2 separate regions of the Homo sapiens genome follow, and region 2 is linked to region 1. Evidence: promoter capture Hi-C in human tissues and cell types (Jung and others, 2019). All regions are on one chromosome and are shown on one strand. Each heading gives the region's core, a stretch centred on a gene start or on the middle of the fragment in contact. The rest is flanking DNA. Distances are from core to core; before and after follow the strand shown.

Region 1 (6,521 bases), core at 2,022-4,521:
TAATACAACCCCACAAGCTAGTGCTGCTATTCAAGGGTAAAACTGTAAACCCTGTGCAGTTTAACTGTTGGTAGTTATTTTTCATCTGGAGCTGGCCTCAAGGAGTCCCATTCCTAGGTAGCCCAAGTAAATGTGCTTATGGCTGGGGAGAAAAGCACCATCCTACTCCCCAGAGATTCCCAGGGTCTTCGTCACCATGGACCCAGGCCAGGGATTAAGGGAAGCCAGAAAGAGCCATCCTGAGCGTCTGGCCAGAGGATGTCCTCTCCCGAGAGCTCAATATCAAGCTCCTTTGGAGGAGCAGTTAGACACAATAGCACCATCTCCTTTGGGCTTTTTGAGTACTTTGGGGCTTGCATGGCCATTTCCTGTCGCTTTTGCTAGGGCTGACCTGGGTAAACTGGAGCAGACATAGAATCCAGAAGTCCCATGGAGCTCCAAAAGGGAGGAAGCCTGCAGGGCCACAGGGCAGGGTTCTACCTTCCACCAGAGGCCACTGGTCCAGCAGCTTTGGGGGGAAGCCTGCAAACAGCAGGCAGTCACCTGACCAGGACTGGCACTGAGAATCAATGATCCAAGGGATACTCCTCTGGGATGGTGTGTGTCTGTGCCTCTGGGGAAGAACTTCCAGCCAGAAACTTAATCAGAACTTTTGGGTTTGATATCCTATCACCAGGAGTGGCTGAAGACAAGGTATTTCCTAGGATGATGATCTGTGTAAATAGCTGCTTCGTGCCTGTCTGCTTAACGAATGCTCTAAGGGAGCATTACTGGATTGGACTGGAGTGCTTGGGAAAATAATCGAGATGTGGCTCAGGAGTGAGAGAGTCTAGAGGGAATCAGAGAGTAGGCCTCTTAAGAAACAGTGCCTCCCTAGTCTCTCTTTGGGATATTTTCCCCAAATTTTGTTTTTGACTGAGGGGACATTCGGGGAATTTGCTATTTGTTACAGCTTACCATTTATGTTCTCTTAAGCGAAGAAGAAGGGGGTCACTTCAAAAGGGAGAGGGGAAATGGGGCAAGGAGAAAAAGGCTTTAATAAAGGCCAGCTGGGCTGATAAATGCTTTGGGGCTGAAAAATGGCTTGGGGGCCTAATCAGAGCTGGCTGGCCAAAGCTGGAGGATCCATGAGATAGAACCTTCCTCAGTGGCTCAGATCTTGCCAGCTGGTAGCCTCTTCTTTTATAAGATGTGGACCCCAGAGAGCCTCTGGAAAACTCAGGCTTCTTATCAGTTAAGGAATATCCTATAAGCGAAGGAAAACCCAGGAGTGAGCACCAACAGAACATGATGAGTAGGCGCATGAAACCACCCGAACACACCCAATGGCCTTTAAGGTAGTCAGGTGACATCTTGGCCTTTTTCATTGCCATCCACTCTACCTTAGGCCAAAGCAAACTCTACCCTCACAAAAGGTCACAGGACCACAGCCAGAACCATGAGAAAGCCAGGTGCTTACCGCAATCAGGGCTGAGTTCCTCTGGTCCCCTGGGGTTGAAGCGGGCGGCTGCTGCTCTCCGTTTATCCCACCACTGCCACCATTATTGCTACTGTTCAGCAGGTGCTGCTGGTGGTGATGGTGATAGTCTGGTGGGGGCGGTGGGGCTGCTGTTGCTGCTGCTTGGGAGGCCGCAGGAGGGGCAGCAGGGGGCGGTGGAGGGGCTGTAGTGGTGGCAGCAGTGGCGGTGGCCTTGGTGTGTTTGCCAGCTTTCCTTGCCCCCTGGCCATGCTGTACAAGGCTCAGGAGCTGCAAGGTGCTTTCTCTTTCCCGGTCTGAGCTCTCGGCCCTACCTCGTTCATATCGTCCTTCACAGCTCAGGTGGTGTTGGCGGCAGACAGCGATCCGAGCCCGGAGGCGCTCCACGATAGCACTGTGCACTCTCGGGGTGACTGAGCCCCCTCCAAGGAGCCCCGCCCCAGAGGCCCCCCCTAGCCCTCCTGCGGGGGCCTGCGGGGGCGCTGTGTCCCCCATCTTACCGGACACAATGATTGCTGCCTCTGGGATGGTGAGGTGGAAAGAGGCTACTGCTGGCTATTGCAGGCAAGTCTGTTTTTGACAATGTGAGCTCAGTGTTCAGGGCCACATGAATAGAGGTCTTCAGAGGTTGTGGGGGAGCCGTGGAGAAGTTGTGGGGGAGGGGAGTTAGTAAAAAGAGGGTGGGGAGAAAGAATAGAAACCAACTGGGGGGAGGATAAGTTGGAAACAAACCCTGATTAACTTACTCTAATTGCATTTGACAGCTCTGGAGAAGTTGGACAGAGTTGGTGGATTTTTTTTCCTCCACCAAGCTGACAAGAGCCACTAGGTACTTTGTAAACACACGATCTGGGGGTTAGATCAAGAATTCAGGGATTGTCCAGCAAGAGACAGAAACACACAGCAAAAGGTATTGAGAGAGGTATTAATAGAGAGGACTCCCCCTCACCTAGTTGTTTCCGACAATTCTTTATGGGGATGTTTCTGCAGAGAAACACATTTCTACCATGTCTATGTAACCAGCAGCCTTGACTTTTCCTCAGGTTAAATAAAAAACCAAAACAAAACAAAACAGTGCTGTTTCAGAAGATGTTTAAGTCACTGTTCAAAATGTGCAAAAATCAAGGGAGACTGTCTTTTGGCTTTTAATTTTTCCTCCCTTTCCTTTCGCTCCGGTGTTTTCTCCTCTTTGGGGTACTGTAGGATGTTGTCTTCTCCCAAAAGAGGGAGACAGCTTTTCAACTGTTAACAATGTCAGTAATTGGACTTTTGGACCATGCTTTTTTCTTCAGCTAATCCAATCACCGGTAAAATCCTCACTCCCTCTAAGGTTTCCTAGCCTTAAATGAAAAGCAATCTTAAGTCGCTAGCCACTGAGAGAGATCCTTCAACACATTTTTTTCTTTCCCGCTTACGTTTCTATTCCTCACCCCCGGCTCTATTCTAATACAGTATCAAGAGAGACAAACTCTTCCGAGAGTAATTTACAAACGATGGTCAAACTTACAAACTTCCAGCAAATTGCACCGAGTCATGTCCAGCCACTTTTCTGTCCACTTTTGTACATTCCATCCCCGGCCAGTGGATCTGAGGGTCTGGACTCGCAATAAGCAATCTGGTTCTATCTCCTGTATTTGCTCCGCTTTATAGATGGAAAAAAAAAGTAGCTTGTATTTTCCTTTCTCTTTCTCGTCTGTTGTTAGCCGCTTTGCTGACACTGGCTCGCGCCCGGAGTCACGGCGATACACAGGCTTTCATTGTGCTCCGATAGGAGAGGGAGAGAAAGAGAGAGAGTGAGACAGAGAAGGAGAAAGAGAGAGCCAGCAAGCTGCAGATGGGGGTGGGGGGGCGGGGAGAGGGCGGGAGAGCTCGTTCGAGGCTCCCTGGTGGAAGGCTGGTGCCACTGCGCGAGTGAGTAATCGCAGCCAGGCACCGGGGAAAGGGGAACGCAGAGGGCCTCCCAGTGGCTGAAGAGGTAAATCCCAAGCCCTGCGCATCTCAGCTGCCCTGGCTCAGCTCAGCATCAGACTCGGTTAAGCGGGGAAGGCTGGGGAAATTCCCCAACCTCTACACAACCATTTCACCAGCTCTAAATGTTTAAGAAATTCCGGGCCAGGAATGTGTTTTCCCTTTCAGCCCTACATTACGCCCCGCTGAGGATATCATTTTCATTTTTCAGTATATTGTAAATGACACCACTGAGCAACCTAGCACGAGCTGTGTGAGCACCGAGGAAATGTTCATTAATAGAATAAGGAAGATATGAATGTGTGTGTTGAGGGCGGAAGGGGTTGCGCGTGGAGAGGAGAGGTAATCACATTGTTAGCTCCTAAAGGGCAGGCAGGTGTAGCGTTTGTCTACCTGCCTGCCCATTTGTGTGTCTCTGGATAAGTGAGTCTGGGTGATCACAGGCAAATCAGTTGGGATAAATAAAATATTTTATGAGAATGATACAATTATCGATACCAGTTCTAGAAAAAAACGCTTTTTTTTTGGGAATGCATGATTGCCTATGAAAAACCAAATATAAGACCTGAAGTATCCTTAGCTACCTGGTGCACATATACAATGAGGAAAGTCAATGTGTAGCAGCTGAGTTTCAAAAAGTTTTTTTTTTTTTTTTCTTTTAATGGAGTCTTGTTATGTTGCCCAGGCTGGAGTTGAACTCCTGGGCTCAAGTGATCCTCCCACTTGAGCCTCCTGAGTAGCTGGAACTACAGGTACTCACCACTACTGCACCTGGCTCTGAGTTTCAAGAAGTTTAATAATAGAAACCAAATAGATCTCACACAGATCATTGTTCCCCCATTTTCAAGTGATCCAACCTTTAAAATATCCAATCCTGGCCAGGCACAGTGGCTCACGCCTGTAATCCCAGCACTTTGGGAGGCCAAGGCAGGTGTATTACCTGAGTTCAAGAGTTCAAGACCAGCCTGGCCAATATGGTGAAACCCCGTCTCTGCTAAAACTACAAAAATTAGCTGAGCATGGTGTCATACGCCTGTAATCCCAGCTACTCGGGAGGCTGAGACAGGATAATTGCTGGAACCCAGGAGGCGGAGGTCGCAGTGAGCTAAGATCACGCCACTGCGCTCCAACCTGGGCAACAGGGTGAGTCTCTGTCTCCAAAAAAAAAAAAAAAACTTATTGTGGATTCTGCTTATTTTCAATTATGAAGATTAAATTAAGGTGAGCATAATACTGCAACAGTCAGGACCAAAAATATTCTGGGTATCCTAATTTGGAAGTCATTTGGATTTGAGGTCTCAAATAATATACCTTCAGTAATCTAAACAAACTCTGGCATTTCACGAATATGGTCGTTTCAAACTGAGCTATGGATAGAAATAGGCAAAATCAAGGCAAACATCTCAATACTGGATTTATTTGCAATTTAGTTCCCTATAGGATAGCCTACTTTAGTCCATTTTATTTTCACCAATCCTGTTAGCTTGGAAATGGGGACAAATACACTCAGATTTTTTGTTTGTTTTATAATTTCTTTTATTTCTTTTTTTAAATTTTATTATTATTATACTTTAAGTTTTAGGGTACATGTTCACAACGTGCAGGTTTGTTACATATGTATACATGTGCCATGCTGGTGTGCTGCACCCATGAACTCGTTATTTAGCATTAGGCATATCTCCTAATGCTATCTCTCCCCCCTCACCCCACCCCACAACAGTCCCCAGAGTGTGATGTTCCCCTTCCTGTGTCCATGTGATCTCATTGTTCAATTCCCACCTATGAGTGAGAACATGCGGTGTTTGTTTCTTCGTCCTTGTGATAGTTTGCTGAGAATGATGGTTTCCAGCTTCATCCATGTCCCTACAAAGGACATGAACTCATCAATTTTTATGGCTGCATAGTATTCCATGGTGTATATGTGCCACATTTTCTTAATCCAGTCTATCATTGTTGGACATTTGGGTTGGTTCCAAGTCTTTACTATTGTGAATAGTGCCGCAATAAACGTACCAGTGCATGTGTCTCTATAGCAGCATAATTTATAGTCCTTTGGGTATATACCCAGTAATGGGATGGCTGGGTCAAATGGTATTTCTAGTTCTAGATCCCTGAGGAATCGCCACACTGACTTCCACAATGGTTAAACTAGTTTACAGTCCCACCAACAGTGTAAAAGTGTTCCTATTTCTCCACATCCTCTCCAGCACCTGTTGTTTCCTGACTTTTTAATGATTGCCATTCTAACTGGTGTGAGATGGTATCTCATAGTGGTTTTGATTTGCGTTTCTCTGATGGCCAATGACGATGAGCATTTTTTCATGTGCTTTTTGGCTGCATAAATGTCTTCTTTCGAGAAGTGTCTGTTCATATCCTTTGCCCACTTTTTATGGGGTTATTTGTTTTTTTCTTGTAAATTTGTTTGAGTTCATTTAGATTCTGGATATTAGCCCTTTGTCAGATGGGTAGGTTGCAAAAATTTTCTCCCATTCTGTAGGTTGCCTGTTCACTGTGATGGTAGTTTCTTTTGCTGTGCAGAAGCTCTTTAGTTTAATTAGATCCCATTTGTCAATTTTGGCTTTTGTTGCCATTGCTTTTGGTGTTTTAGACATGAAGTCCTTGCCCACACCTATGTCTTGAATGTTATTGCCTAGGTTTTCTTCTAGGGTTTTTATGGTTTTAGGTCTAACACATAAGTCTTTAATCCATCTTGAATTAATTTTTGTATAAGGTGTAAGGAAGGGATCCAGTTTCAGCTTTCTACATATGGCTAGCCAGTTTTCCTGGCACCATTTATTAAATAGGGAATCCTTTCCCCATTGCTTGTTTTTCTCAGGTTTGTCAAAGATCAGATAGTTGTAGATATGCGGCATTATTTCTGAGGGCTCTGTTCAGTTCCATTGGTCTATATCTCTGCTTTGGTACCAGTACCATGCTGTTTTGGTTACTGTAGCCTTGTAGTATAGTTTGAAGTCAGGTAGCATGATGCCTCCAGCTTTGTTCTTTTGGCTTAGGATTGACTTGGCAATGCGGGCTCTTTTTTGGTTCCACATGAACTTTAAAGTAGTTTTTTCCA
Region 2 (6,521 bases), core at 2,732-5,231, 570 kb before region 1:
AACTATTGCACTAAAGTGGTCTGAATGGACAGACAGGAAAATAGTTTCTAATGTTTGGCCTAAACTTCTCTCATGTATCTGTTGTTTCAGGGTTTCATACTGGAAAAAGGGGGTAAAATGTAGATGAAGCTATGTAGGCTCAATAATGGTCCCCCAATATGTCCATGCCCGAACCCTTGGAACCAGTGAATACATTACCTTATATGACAATAGGGACTTTGCAGATGTGACTAGGTTAAGAACTCGAGATGGAAAAACTACGTTGTTTGTGCAGGTGGAGCCAATAATGTTCTCATAAGGTCCTTATGAGAGGGAACAGAGGGAGACACTCTGAGAAGGTATGATGACAGCAGCAGAGAGAGATTTGAGATGCTACAATTTGGGCTTTGAAGATAAAGGTCAATGAGCTCATAGCATGCAAGGAATGCAGCTCTAGAAGCTGGAAAAGGCAAGAAAACAGATTTTCCCCTACAGCCTCCAGAAAGAAGCAATCCTGCCAATACCTTGACTTTAGACCAGTAAACCTGATTTTGGACTTCTGGCCTCCAGAACCATAAAAGAATTAATTTTTGTTGTATTAAGACACTAAGTGTGTGGGAGTTTGTTACAGCAGCCATTGAAAACTAATACAAAGCCTTTGACAAGTTTTTTATTGTGAAATATTGGATCTAGAAAAAAGTACAAAATGTCAACAGTCAGATGTGTACAAGTACAGTATTTCAATAGTCTATACATGTGAACAGCTTAACAGGTTCACTGCAGAATGCATATTTAGACCAATATAATCTAAAAAGGACTGCAATATTCACAGGCTATTAATACATAAATAACTTGAGTCAAAATGACCCTTACTGGTAAATGCTAATTAATAGTGGAAAACAGGCTAAAAGCACAATACACCACACCATAGTATCTCCTTACAGGTCCACATTTAAAGAATATCAGTTTATTATGTCAAAACACTACAGAGATCCAGGACTGGGACTGAATTACTAATTTATACAATTGCAAAAAAATTTAAGTTATAAAATAAGGTCATGGAATAAAGAAGGGTATTTAATTAGGACTAAATACTGTGAAGCCCATGAAAGGGTTTTAGCCTTGGAATTTACAAAGCTAAATTATTAGACTGTTAATGTTAGCTAACACTAAAACTGAATTACCTTCCATTTTAATGTTAGCTAATATTAATATTCAACTTTTTAATTTTGATGTTAGCTAAGGGGAAGGACGAGGACAACTTTCTTTTGTAGTTTCTCCAACAAGGTGTAAGAACTATCAAAAAGTAAAACCATAATGACCACTGTGGACTGACAAATGGCTATGAAACAAGAATATAAAACATTACAAATTTCAAAGAAAGGTAATAACTATCTTATGAATTTAGCAAATCCTGCAAACGTTAAAATCCATGTTAAGGCATTATCTATCATGGTTGAGAGTACTAAATTTAAGAAAATTATTACATGAAGATCCCATAAAAATAAACTGGTTTAGTTTACAAGATTCTAACTGAATCTTTTTGTATCACTTGAAAATTACCCTATATTATGCTTTCAAAATGGACAAAGAATTATTTGGTATTCACTTTATAATGAACTATGAGAACAGTCTATTGAAACACGTCATGTTAAAAAAAAATTGTTTCAATCATGTGTTCTTAAGAAAGCCAATCTTTGATATGACATTCACAATCAATGCTTGTATAAAACAAAACCTTTAAAACTTATAAATTTAGTAACAGTTTTACATGAAGCAAATTTATCTTTGCCCATAAATTATTAAGAGAAGCAACTCACTCTATACAGTGTATCTAGCAATACTTTAAAATCAAACTAAAACTCTGAACTGATAATAACTAGGAGATAAATTCTATTTCAGGCTGAAAACCGCTGGATCAGAATATAGTCAATAACTTCATATAACCTATCCCACCCTACCTTAACCTTTTATAGACAATTTTAAAGACTTTAGGACAATTTACTTATAATGCCTGAATCTTATAGTAGATTCCAATTTATTCAAAGATTATCACAGATTGGATTAAAAAGATCATTTAATTTTTTTCAGATTTGCTTTAAATTTACAAATTACATTGTACATAAATATTAACTTAGATAACCACACATAGGGAAAGCAGATACATGGATCATTGCAGAAACATTAAAATTTTTAAAAAATTTTATAAAATATAAAGCAAAACATGTAACTCACACAATACTAATATGAAGCCACATGACATAAAAAATAAAATTACTCTTTAAGAAGCAACTTAAAATTAAATCTTTGGGGAACTATTTTGACATAATTAAATGAATTCAAAGACCAACAGCTTCCCTTATCACACAGAAACAAATCACAAAATTTTCTACAATCTATATGCATTATCAGTTAGTTCTAAATGTAATCTCAAACATTTTACTAGCAACTTTGATTTCCTTTTGAAATAGGCTTCTGTACATATGCATTTATATACAAACATTTATTAAACATGATTTTAAAACAAAATGTATGTACAAAAGATCAGCATTCCTATAAATAAAAACATTAGGTGGCAAAAAGGCACTTGTAAGTAAAAATCTACAGTAGTTTTTACAAAACAGAAACACATTTTACCTTAGATACTGTACAATAAACATTAATTCCTATACCAATAATGAAAATGCTAGGTTACTAATGTTAATGATGTAACTTTAAAAAACAAATTTACATATATCTGAAGTTCATTTAATAAAAGCACCGTGATTTTCTCCTAAATTCATCTTGATGCAAAGTAAAAACACAATTCCCAAAAAACCAGTGTTCGCCATTTTTCGAGTTTAAAAGTTTTTGTATTTCTAAATTGAAAACTGTTTGTCTGAAATTAGCATAGTGTAAAACAAAAACAAAACAAAAAAACCCTGCTGCTCTGACTTCTGAAACCATACCTACTCTATTATTGCATGTTGCGTTTCATAAAGAGCACTACTCATGCACTCCTTTACAACTGTTTAATACTATTGCTGGCAAAAAAGTTCCTGGATATCAAATAATTAAAAAGTTACTTCAAACCAGTTGAAGTTTTATTTGAATGTTTTACAACTTAAAAAATGCTGTATATCAATTACAAAAGTGAACAGGAAACACACCAATTCATTTGGTGTGCAAAAATATTTTTCTACTACACAGAATTTAAGGGCTTCACAGAATTTTTTTTCCCCAAATTTACATTGTAAGAAGAAATGCTAAACAAATGACTTTCTCAAGGAGATGTTAGTATGCTTCCACTTTTGTCAAATTTTTTACCCTTTGATAATGCTGCGACCTGTTTGAGTAGTTCTCTGTTTTTGGCCTGTGGGAGACAAAAACATTCAAGATTAAAAATGTTTGAAATATTATTAAGTCATGCTGAAGAATACTACTTATTTAATACTGTTTTCATTTATATAAATGTTTCACTAAAGCACTAACATTAAATGAAAGAGTTGATACCTTTACATTCATCTCTTTAAGGATGAACATGCAGAAGGAAAATTCTAGATTGGCTCATCAGCCCCCTTTGTATATGTCATTATTAATATAATTGTGTCCAAAGATGCACAATTGGTTACAAAAAAGGAAACAAAGTGAATCCACTTAAAAGAAGGTCCAAATTTTAATAGGGAAAAGGTGTTTGGCCCTTCATCTTAAAAACATGAAAACTATGAAAATAAGTTGTAATTTACAATTAATAAAATCAAAGAATGAATCAAGATTTGGGAGGAGTATTTCCTGGCAAGCTGTATAAGGTCTTTTTTCTATGTTTACTCTCTTGTAGAACAAGCATAAGAGGTCATTTTTGCAAAAACAACTCAGAATTTGTTACTTTGCCAAATGCACCCAATGATATTCAATTTTTTTTAAAGCACCCATCAGAACCACTCATTATCTTGTTGTTCCTTTAGTTACCAGTCATCTGACACTGATTTTAGTGTGGTTTGAGCAGTTCCACATCATCATTTCCTATCTCATGAAAGCTTGAATTTTTACAAAGATTCAAAATTTCATTTCATCATCTGACTTGAATTTCATTATTAAATGTCCATCCATCACTAGTTTAGTGAAGAGGAATGTGTAAGTACAGTGAATATTTTCACATTTTGACTGCCTTTGTCACCTTATTCAGTCTCTTAAATATGAAAACTTAGATAGTAAGGATCCCTATATATACAAATACATTAATGATCAAGCATTTTTGTAGTTTGAGCCAAAATGGGGAAAGTGATGAAAATAGAGCACTGCCCTAAAATTAACACATTTTAAAAAGATATCCTCTGACTTATGTTTCAACACCATTTTCCTTCACAGGTTCCAGGAATTTTTATTATATAGACAGACTTTTTTAATCTCAGTACTTCATATTTTATTCTAATTTTAGCTTTTTACGGGCAGATAACACTCTGCCTTCTCTGTATGCCATCTTAAAGTGGTTTCATGAAATAACCTTTTTCAAACTTTATTCTTCCATTCCCCCACCCTTCTTCTCCAATCACTCTTGCTAATTAACACCCATGACCTCTAAAATGCAAATATTCTCAGTACTATCTTATATGTGCAAATCAAATAATTTTTTATGTTCAGATGCATGATCAATAGAACTTTCCTATTCAGTGGTTATTAATAACTAAGGTGGTAACGAAAAACTTCAATTTCAAATTCAGTATCAATTTCAAATTTTGAGTCTGCAAATTTGACTCAAAAAGATCTCCACTAGATCTGTTAAGTTATATTTATCTAAAAATGTTTATACTGATACAAAATAGTTAAAATGTGAATCTCCAAGTTCTTATCTCAATTATCAAGAAATAAAGTGTTTATAATTTTCATATTTTAAGTACAAAATACAATAATTTGAACATTAGGTCTTCAAAGCAATTTTTCCATTTAATGCTTTGGTAGCTAATTTCCAATTTGCTTTTAATATATTTATATCACTAATAAAGATATTTCTTAATAAATTACATAAGACAAAAGTCTTTATGGTAAATAAATAACACAATTGTTAAGTACAAGTCCAAATTATTCTAATTTGAATACTTTAAAAATGAATTTTATGCCATATTTCAATATATGTACATTTAAATTGTTTTATCCTAAAATTACTTCATTTTGCAGCCAGCCAAAAAAAAAAAAAAAAATCAATGAAATTCTTTACAGACTCTTAAGAAAGCTAAGTTTTAAAGTTTAGACATGTTGGTGCAAAGGAAAGAATATCAGGATTAAGAATTACATAGATCCTGCTTTAAATCCTGGCTTACTTACCAGCTACATAACCTGGAGCATATTTTCTCATTTGTAACACAAACTCCACCATCCGAACTCAAAATGAGTTGAAGGAACTTATCAAATATATAAAACACTTAGCCTAACACAGTTCCTGGTACACAGAAGGCACTCAAATGTTAGGTCCCTTTTCCTTTTAACCACTTACCTAATTAAGTGAATAAGAGTTTTAACTTGATATTCTTAGTATTTTCAATATTTGGGGTATTTTGGGGTGACATTTTGAACAATTTTTTCATGTGATGTTCAGTGTTTTGTCGTAGGTTTGGCAGTTAAAAATATTTTACTAGCTATTAGAGCAAGATCCATCTTGTGTCACAGGATTCAATTCCTTATTACATAAAGATAAAAAAAAAATTACCGGTTTCCTCACCTCAGTAAAGAATCCTACTAGTATCACTTGGTTGCTAAAGGAAGTGAGGTAAAAAGATGGCACTCAGCTATGACAGATTGTCTCTAGCCATAACACAAAAAAATCAGGGAAGTGGCCTGATAGGAAGGATGAAATAGAAAACCTGAGGAACCTGAAGTGGTGGGAACTAGTGTAGGACAGGGAAAAGTATAGATAAACTGGAGTGAGAAGACAGAGATTTCTACGTCACCGCTTACTGTGTGATCACAGTTTCCTCTGTAAAATGGGCATATCACATAACCCAGTTTTTGCAACAAGTAAGACAGCATATGTAAAATCATGTCAAAATGTCCTATTTAAATATTGGTTACTTTTATACTACATGAAACTTCAATTACCAAGAGGAGGTAGGCCTAAGATATCTATCAGGCTAAGTCAAAGATGACCCCATGTATTTGCAACTATGATTTTAAAAAAGAAAAACCAACACACAAACTGCTCTTTTGAACAGTGGGGAGCACTAAGTTAAAACATATCTGAGCACCTATTGCAGTTATTCTGTTATCTCATTCTGGATTTACTTCAGAGCTTTGGTTACATTACATTAAATCAAAGATCACCAGGTGGAAGATTTTGTTCCAGGTAATCATTCAGCATTAATAACTGAGTAAGAAAAACAGGAATAACATAAAATTAAAAATAATACTTGCTGGTGGATAAAAACATTGACTAATATATAAGAATCTGATATATGATACGGGCAATCTCTCAGAACAGAGGGCTGATGGGCATTTCCATAAATCACCACCTAGTCAACAAATTATTTGAATGCCTACTATGTCTCAGGTTCTACATGAGGTTCCTTTTT

The links. Contacts are between HindIII fragments. The study calls those that stand out against the background at their distance.
Region 2: a contact is called between a fragment that was not itself captured here and the fragment with the promoter of MAML2 in region 1, in 1 of the 25 tissues and cell types used here (lymphoblastoid cells).

The regions. Positions count from the first base shown.
Region 1 is chr11:96,339,924-96,346,444 of GRCh38, forward strand. MAML2 (mastermind like transcriptional coactivator 2) reads right to left here and starts at 3,272. Exons shown (of 5, transcript NM_032427.4): 1 at 1,460-3,272. The coding sequence starts at 1,972. It overlaps MIR1260B (microRNA 1260b), which reads left to right and starts at 1,515; the gene lies at 1,515-1,603. RefSeq lists silencers at 1,889-2,148, 3,266-3,455. The HindIII fragment of the contact is 9,356 bases long and covers 1-6,521 here.
Region 2 is chr11:95,768,320-95,774,840 of GRCh38, forward strand. It overlaps FAM76B (family with sequence similarity 76 member B), which reads right to left. Exons shown (of 10, transcript NM_144664.5): 10 at 634-3,331. The coding sequence ends at 3,242. Among named protein-coding and RNA genes, the nearest start is that of FAM76B, 18 kb to the right of the region's middle. The HindIII fragment of the contact is 4,038 bases long and covers 1,963-6,000 here.